Regions from separate parts of the Homo sapiens genome. Here region 2 is linked to region 1. Evidence: promoter capture Hi-C in 16 types of primary human blood cells and fetal thymus (Javierre and others, 2016). All regions are on one chromosome and are shown on one strand. The core of a region is centred on a gene start or on the middle of the fragment in contact, and the rest is flanking DNA. Distances in the headings are between cores, read along the strand shown.

Region 1 (4,267 bases), core at 1,136-3,635:
ACTTTCCTCTTAAAAACAATGTCAGAGAAAAACAATGACCAATTCTGTAAATTAGCTCCACTGGTTAGACCAGATATCAAACAGATTCAACCCCTGGGAGGTCACTAGGCCTCTTCTACTTCCAAGAACTTCTAACTCCCATTAGTTCCTCTTACTTGTCAGTCATCAGGAAGAACATAAATGGATCTGTGCATTAACATTTATAAAAACATACAGCCAAAGGCAGGCTCAATAGCGTCCTCCTATATATTTTATTTATTCTCATTTTTCAGAAGGAAAATGTAAATTTCAGATCTCAACGGATGAGTCACATGCAATTTCTAAAGCCAATGCAGTAAGGACCTGTGATCAAGTGAACCCAGCCTTCCTGAACCTTCTGTCATCTCTCTGCCCCTCCTTTCAATCTTTGTTTTAGGTTGCAGACTCTTCTTTCTAGGTATACATGTGTAGGACATGTGTTCATCTAAAAGATTAGTCTAGTTGTAGAGACCAAAGGCATCACTTCTATTGACCCTGACCTTCGCCTACTTCAAGCAGATTTTCATTACTAAGAATCGATGTTATCAGAAGCTTAAGACTTTTCAGTTTAGAAAAATATATTCTGCATATTAGAAGTTGGGGGCTGGAGGATAAAGTTTATCTTGTCACAACTGTTCAATCTGAGATGTCCAAGAAGCAGCTTTCTGTGGAAACCTGGAATAATGGATTATTCCCAGGTGATATGTAAAGTTGTAGAATATAGATTAAGCTCATTATACTAAAAAGCCCTAAAATTAAACACAGCTGTTTGTTGAGCTCTTGCCCTGATTTCCCCAATTACAACATTGCTGTGTGTTCGCACACAAGCCTTTGATCCGATTCTCTTTCATTTCAGTCTGTCCTGGGACCTGTACTGTAGGAGAGAAAGACGAAAATCCATAGATGATGGATGATGTGTAGAACACAGATACTCTGTAATTCAAGTCTCGGTAAAATTCAGAAGTTAGAGCAACATACACAAACAAGAGGGTCTGGCCTTTCTTCCCAGAGGGGCTATTGGCTAACCTATTTTTGCTACATTAATTAAAACGACCCATCGCCCTGATTCCTAACAATCTTCCTAAAAACAGTATCTATTCCATATATCCTCCCAACACAATCAAAGTAGGTCAGAAATGTTGCTTCCTTCCCCTCATTGATTTTCATTAAGAGGATGCACTTTCTGAACACTAAATGGAAAGATAAACACCCAATACAAGAACCAATGACACCCCCTGTAAATTTTTGGCACACTGTCTCGTTCTTCTAAAAGCCAGATAAAAATCTCATCTCCCATAGTTTATCCTTTTTGGCTGTAAAACAACAATGATTACAAGCTATAAAATACACCGCGGCAATACTTCAGCCAGGTGATAAAGCACCTCCCAAAAGAAGCATATTCACTGTCTTTTCTAATTTTCTCCATCATCAACCTGCATCTTCTCTACCAAGTACATACTCCTTTTTTTTCCCCCCCAAATTCAAATCCACATTTTGTCAGAAGGATGCTAAGTGACACCATACATTGGCTTAGCAAACCCACAGGGCCTTAATCAGGAAGCTGAGGGCAGGGGAGTAGGACGAAGGCGTTTGCAGAGACAGGGGAGTGGAGACAGGGGGAGGAGGAGCGGGAAATCCTCTGGTGTCTGTGTCTGGCTCTCTGGAAAAGCTGTGATGAGATGGTTCTTCAAATCCCACTGGTGGGGCTTCCCCAGTCTCCTCCCCTTCCTGAAATCTTTCCCTCGACCCCAGGTCCTCAAACCTGGCTGTCCAAAAAGGACGCCGCAAAGTCCTGCAGAGCCCCCAAAAGACACAAGCGCGGACAGAAAAGCATCCCCCGAGAGACAGCGAAGCCACACACCCTCTCCGGGCCAGCTACCAGGGCGGGCAACTTCACCCCTCGAAGCAAACGAAAGCCCCTGTTCTCCAAGCAAAGGAAAAGGGGATGGCAAACAGAAATAAACAGGAACCGCTCTCAGCCTTCATCTTCCGCGCCCTCCCCCAGCAAACTCCAGGTAGAGGACCAGGTGCTGCTCACCTCCTGGCAAGGAGGAAGCGGGCGGCTGGAGGAGGAGGGCAGGTCCCCAGCCCAGGCCGCCTGGCAGCCGGCGAGCGCCCAGCAGCAAATCCAGGCGGGGCTCCAGGGCGGCGAGCGCCCGCGGCGGGGAGCCTCCGCCGGCCGCCCCCAGCCCCTGCCCCGTACCGGCCCCCGGGCGCGGAACAGCATCTTCGTCCGGCCGCGGTCGGCGGGCCGGCGGCAAGGCAGCCTTCCCGGGGTGCGGCGGCAGCTCCGGCTCCCGGGCCGCGACTGCTGTGCGCTCGTCTCGCCGCTCCGTCACCCGCTGCCCGTCCGCCCGCTGACAGCTCTGCTGCGCTCGCGGCCCGGGCAGCCAGCGCCGATGCTCCCGTCACGCCGGAGGGAGGGACCGCGGGGCGCGGGCGCGGCGCGGGGGCGGGACGCGGGGCGGGGACGCTGGAGCTGGGGAGCAGGTGGCGCGGGCGGGGGCTGCGGCCCAGCCCGGCGGGTCCCCAGGGGCTGCGCGGCGCTCGCCTCGCGCTAGAGGGCGAGAGAGGCTGGGGACCCCGTGGAGTAGCCTGTCTCAGGTCCCCGTGGCCCACTGGGAGGGGCGCTCCCGGGATGAAGCCAGAGTAAATACAGGACATCAGGACATTGTTTTCTGGCGGTGGGTCTTTAAAAAGCTCGCCACTTTCCTCATTGCACACAAACACGCAGATGTGCCCTCGGAACATCCCTTGTAAGGATCCATGCTGGCTAGCGTCAGATCGAATTTCTAGTTAGGGTGTGCATGAAATGGCGGGGAAGAAAGAGGACTGAGGTGTAGACGTGGTGTGTGACTCAGTTTTCTCACCTATTTAATGAAAATAATACCCACCACGTAGGATTATTATGAGGATTAAGTAAGTTGATGTACATAAAGCACTTGGAAGAGTGCCTGGCACACAGTAGGTGACATGTGTTGGTAGTAGTAGCCATAATTATTGCTGCTATTGGTGTTATTTTGTGGAGATGTGTAACATTGGGCATTAAGCCCTGTGTTTTCTGGAGGAAACAGTTTCTCCATCTGTGCGATGATTGAGGTGCTCTTCGTTTTTTCTTTCATTCAAAAACATACTGAACTAGGTGATGGTGAACAAGATGGACATAAGGCCTTCCTCAGTGGCAAGGATCTCAAGATCCCTTCTTGATCTCAGATTCTGTAAATGGGTGAGTTATTGTGTTTTTCAAAAGAAGCATCCAAATTTCTGATTATTGAATATCTGGACAAATCCACGTGGCCCACTCATTATAAGTTGGCCTGTGGCACATTTGTTTGTGGCATTATCTCTAATATCCTTTTAACAAAATTTCCACATGAAAGTCTCTGTATATGTGTGTTTGTGTGTATGTATACACATATAGATTTGTGTATCACACCTATATTCTGATTATAACAATATATGTTATTTGTAAACATTTTGGAAAATATTGAAAAGTATCAGGAAGAATATAAAAATAACTAGAGATCCTACCACCCAGAGATAACATTGTTAATGGTATTAACATGTTGAGGAATTTCCTTGCTTTTTTTTTTTTAACTCTGTGTGTACTGCAAAACTGGAATAATAATTTGTAACCTGCTTTTATTTTTATTCTTAATAACATAAATATTTTCTCAAGTCATTAAAGTCTCCAACAACACAACTTTAATAATTGTAAAATATTTTCTACTCTTTAGATACATGTAATTTACTATTAGATATTAGGCATTGTTTAAGGATTCAGTGTTATTAATAATTCTGGAAAGAATGCCCTTGGAACATAATCTGTGTGCATCTTTAAATATTTTATGATAACTTTCTAGAAGTGAAAACATTGGATCACATGATATGTGTATTTTTAAAGTTTTTGACGAATAGTGTACAAATTCCTTCCAAAAAATTTGTAGCAATTGTTACCAGCAGTTTATGAGTATTTATTTCACATCACCCTAGATTATAATACTTCAGATATTTATCATTTTGGTAGAAGAGACAAAAGCTATTATTTTTAAAATGTATTTTTATCATTGGTGACATCGAGTGATTTTTTATATATATCTACTAGCTATTTGCATTTTTCCTTCTCATGTCAGGGTGTGAGAATTTTTCACTGGCACACTTTAGCCATTTTATTGAAGTTCCATTTTTTATTGATTCGTTAGCAATCTTCATAAGCTTTGTGTATGTTTATCATATATCTTACAAATAC
Region 2 (4,210 bases), core at 1,549-4,048, 870 kb after region 1:
ATCTGGAGGCATCACATTATCTGACTCCCAACTATACTATAAGGCCATAGTCACCAAAGTAGCATGGTACTGGTATAAAAACAGGCACATAGTCCAATGGAACAGAATAGAAAACCCAGAAAGAAAGCAAAATACAGCCAACTGATCTTCCGTAAAGCAAACAAAAACACAAAGTGGGGAAAGCACATCCTATTCAACGAATGGTGCTGGAATAATTGGCAACCCACATACAGAAGAATGAAACTGAATCTTCATTTTTCATCTTACACAAAAATCAACTCAAGATGGATCAAGACTGAAATCTAAGACCTGAAACCATAAAGATTCTGGAAGATAACTCAGAAAAACCCTTCCAGACATTGGCTTAGGCAAAGACTCCATGAGCAAGAACCCAAAAGCAAATGCAACAAAAGAAAGATAAATAGATGGGACCTAATTAAATGAAAAAGCTTCAGCACAGCAAAAGAAATAATCAGCAGAGTAAACAGACAACCCACAGAGTGGGAGAAAATTTTCGTAAACTATGCATCTGACAAAGGACTAATATCCAGAATCTACAAAGAACTCAAACAATCAGCAAGAAAAAAACAACAACAAACAATCCCATTAAAAAAGCGGGCTAAGGACATGAATAGACAATTCTCAAAAGAAGATATACAAATGGCCAACAAACATATGGAAAAATGCTCAACATCACTAATTATCAGGGAAATGCAAATCAAAACCACAATGCGATACCACCTTACTCCTGCAAGGATGGCCATAATAAAAAAAAATAGATGTTGGCATGGATGCAATGAAAAGGGAACACTTTTACACTGTTTGTGGGAATGTAAACTAGTATAACCACTATGGAAAACAATATGGAGATTCCTTAAAGAACTAAAAGGAGATCTACTATTTGATCCAGCAATCCCACTACTAGGTATCTACCCAGAGGAAAATAAGTCATTATACAAAAAAGAAACTTGCACATACATGTTTATAGCAGCACAATTTACAATAGCAAAAATATGGCACCAGTCAAAAGGCCCATCAATCAACGAGTGGATAAAGAAAATGTGGCATATATATACCATGGAATACTATTCAGGCATAAAAAGGAACAAAATAATGGCATTCGCAGCAGCCTGGATGGAAATGGGGACTATTATTCTAAGTAAAGTAACTCAAGAATGAAAAACCAAACTTTGCATGTTCTCACTCATATGTGGGAGCTAAGCTATGAGGACACAAAGGCATAAGAATGATACATTGGACTTGGGGACTCAGGGGAAAGGGTGGGGGATGGTGAGGGATAACAGACTACACATTGGGTACAGTGTACACTGCTCGGGTGATGGGTACACCAAAATCTCAGAAATCACCACTAAAGAACTTATTCATGTAAACAAACACAACCTGTTCCCCAAAAGCGATTGAAATACAAAAATAAATAATAAACACTCGGAAAAAAAAAATAGCCTCAAGTAACTACTGGCTACAGTATTTGAAAGGCACACCTCTAAATCTTAATTTTTTTCCTTTCTAAAATGGGAGTAGGCATGTGCAGTGGCTCACATCTGCAATCCCAGCACTTTGTGAGGCCAAGGTGGAGCCCAAGAGTTCAAGAGCATCCTGATCATCATGGGGAGACTCTTGTCTCTACAAAAAGTAATAATAATAACAAAAAATAGCCAGGTGTGGTGTCACATGTCTGTGGTCCCAGCTATTTGGGAGGCTGAGGCAGGAGGATGGCTTGAGCCCAGGAGCTTGAGCTGCAGTGAGCCGTGTTCTCACCACTTGCACTCCAGTTGGGGCGACAGAGCAAGACCCTATCTCAAAAATACATACATACATACATACGTACATACATAAATATAAAATCAGAGTAATAGTTATAATCAAATTCTTGACCAAAGGATCAGATAATACATGTGAACTTTGAAAAACTAAAAAATACAAGTATTACTTTATGTAGATAACTATTTTATTATTGTTTTATACTCAAGAATTTCTATCATTTTGAATCAGAGGAAAATGGAATAAGCAGCCTGAGAAAACTGAGTTCCCCATATCTGGTAGAGTTTTGAGGCTGTCTGGCAATAAAGAACAAAAATATCCCGTAGAGTTAAGCTAAATCATCCCTCTATTACCTGCAGAGACCTTCCCTGGGAGGTCCTCTTTGACTCCCTGGACTGAATTAATGGTCCTCTAGGTATAACCATGACACTTTTCACACTGTATTGTAAAAAAAAGTGGTCTGTCTGCTCAACTTTACCCAAGAACAGGTGCCTCTGATCCCCGTGTCCTTCCGGTTGTCAACCGCTGGGTACATAGTATATCCTCAATCTGTATTTGTTGAATAATTCACTAGCACTGTATTCGTGAGGGTATGGTTCTCCGGATAACTTAAGTAACTACTAATCTGTGGTAAACAGAACAGCTCTTTAAGGACGATGCAGATGAATACTGGCTGCTGTAACGGCCCAGTTGGTGCATCTCGGATGCCAGGAGGCGGTCCAGTGCTGATCTCTTTCTTTTGCCCTTCCCTCCCGCCCTTCCAGTCTGTGGGATATAGAGGACCTCACAGTCACGAGGTCGCGACGGTCCGTGCCGTCGTGGAGACAAGCGGGACACGGAGAGAGAACTACATTTCCCAGCTGACTCTCCTGCGCGCGCCCTTGCCTGCGCGCGGGGGGCGAGTGCACCGGGCGCTCGCTCCCTGCCGAGCTCTTGTCGCCCGCCCGAGCCTTTGCCAGGGGATGAGGTGGGAGGCGCTAGAAACCACTTAGCTACAGCCAACCGCCCAATGCAGCACTCGCTCGCTCCCCCCGCCAGCGGAAGCGTCCGCGAAGCACAATGCAGCACTGAGCCGCGGTGGAGGTTGCAGCGCCACGGCCGCCGCAGCACCGGCCGGGGCTGGGTGGAGGTGGCCGCGGGGACCCCGGGGGCGCGGAGCGAGGGAAACGGACTCGGCGGCGCCGGCATGAGGAGCTGAGCGTCTCGGGCGAGGCGGGCTGACGGCAGCACCATGCAGGCGGCAGTGGCTGTGTCCGTGCCCTTCTTGCTGCTCTGTGTCCTGGGGACCTGCCCTCCGGCGCGCTGCGGCCAGGCAGGTAAGTTAGCCGTCCTCTGTGCCTTTGGGCCATACCATTTCCCGGGAATCTTTGGAGCCCTCAGGCGTATTGAAAAGGGGGCATCCCCATTTCCCGAGTGCGCGGGGAGATTTTTTTTTTTTTTTTTTTTAATTCGGGAGGGTGGTGAGAAGTGGAGCAAAAATATATGTGTGGAGGCGCGCAGATGCACTGGAAGCCTTCGGTCAAAGCCTGTTTTTCTCCTTCTGAAGAGGAATGGGGAGAATGGGAAAGGGGTGCCCTGCTTCTGGGCCCCGCTCCTGGTTGCTCTCGGATGAGCTGGTCCAAGGCTCTCGGGCTGGTGTCTCTGCGTCCTTCCCAGTTGGGTTCCGAGAGGGAGGGGGCGGTGGGGATTTTCGTAGGGGAGACGTAGGACTGCAGGATGGAGGAGTGAGGGTCAGGGTCATTATTTTCGCCTTTTCTCTCCACTCCCTCCTTTCCCGGTTCCTGCCTGGAGGAGACGCCTCATTGATGGAGCTAGAGAAGAGGAAGGAAAACCGCTTCGTGGAGCGCCAGAGCATCGTGCCACTGCGCCTCATCTACCGCTCGGGCGGCGAAGACGAAAGTCGGCACGACGCGCTCGACACGCGGGTGCGGGGCGACCTCGGTGGCCCGCAGGTGAGAGGCTCGGTCCGGGAGGTGGTCCTCCGCGCCTCCCGGCCCACCCGAGACCCCACGATTGCGCTCGGTTGCCCTGGAGATCCCATGTCTTCTTGGGTGAAATGAGTTGGGTCCCGATGCGAGTCATGCATGGCGCTCCCTGTGCAAAAAAGAAGGGGAAAAGGGTACAAAAAAGAACCAAAATAACCACAGGCCGAGGGCTTTGCCCGAGGGGAGTTTGTGCGGGGTGCCTTCAGCAGTGCGGTGAGCTGAGAGAACAGGCGGAGAGCCCTCTGACATCTGTCAAGCAAAAGCCAGGCATGCACAGCGAGAAGGGAGGTAGTATTTGGGCAGGGTTTGAATCATCATTGTTGTTGTTTTACTCCTCAAAGAGACTTCATAAGTGATTTAACCCAAGGTTGACACTGTAAGAAAAAATTGGAAAAAAACAAGGCTAGACGTTCTTAAGAAACCCAACTGTAAAAACAAGCTGA

Evidence for each region. Contacts are between HindIII fragments. The CHiCAGO score rates a contact against its expected background, and 5 or more counts as called.
Region 2: the fragment with the promoter of ADAM22 here is called in contact with the fragment with the promoter of ELAPOR2 in region 1 in 3 of 17 cell types (naive CD8 T cells, total CD8 T cells and total B cells); the score reaches 7.8 in naive CD8 T cells.

The regions. Positions count from the first base shown.
Region 1 is chr7:87,057,269-87,061,535 of GRCh38, forward strand. It overlaps ELAPOR2 (endosome-lysosome associated apoptosis and autophagy regulator family member 2), which reads right to left and starts at 2,386. Exons shown (of 22, transcript NM_001142749.3): 1 at 2,057-2,386. The coding sequence starts at 2,245. RefSeq lists an enhancer at 1,348-1,848 and silencers at 2,114-2,183, 2,274-2,663. The HindIII fragment of the contact is 3,663 bases long and covers 569-4,231 here.
Region 2 is chr7:87,931,453-87,935,662 of GRCh38, forward strand. ADAM22 (ADAM metallopeptidase domain 22) reads left to right here and starts at 2,799. Exons shown (of 32, transcript NM_001324418.2): 1 at 2,799-3,098; 2 at 3,574-3,734. The coding sequence starts at 3,014. RefSeq lists a silencer at 2,702-3,111 and enhancers at 3,218-3,795, 3,796-4,210, 3,922-3,971, 3,982-4,061. The HindIII fragment of the contact is 4,406 bases long and covers 448-4,210 here.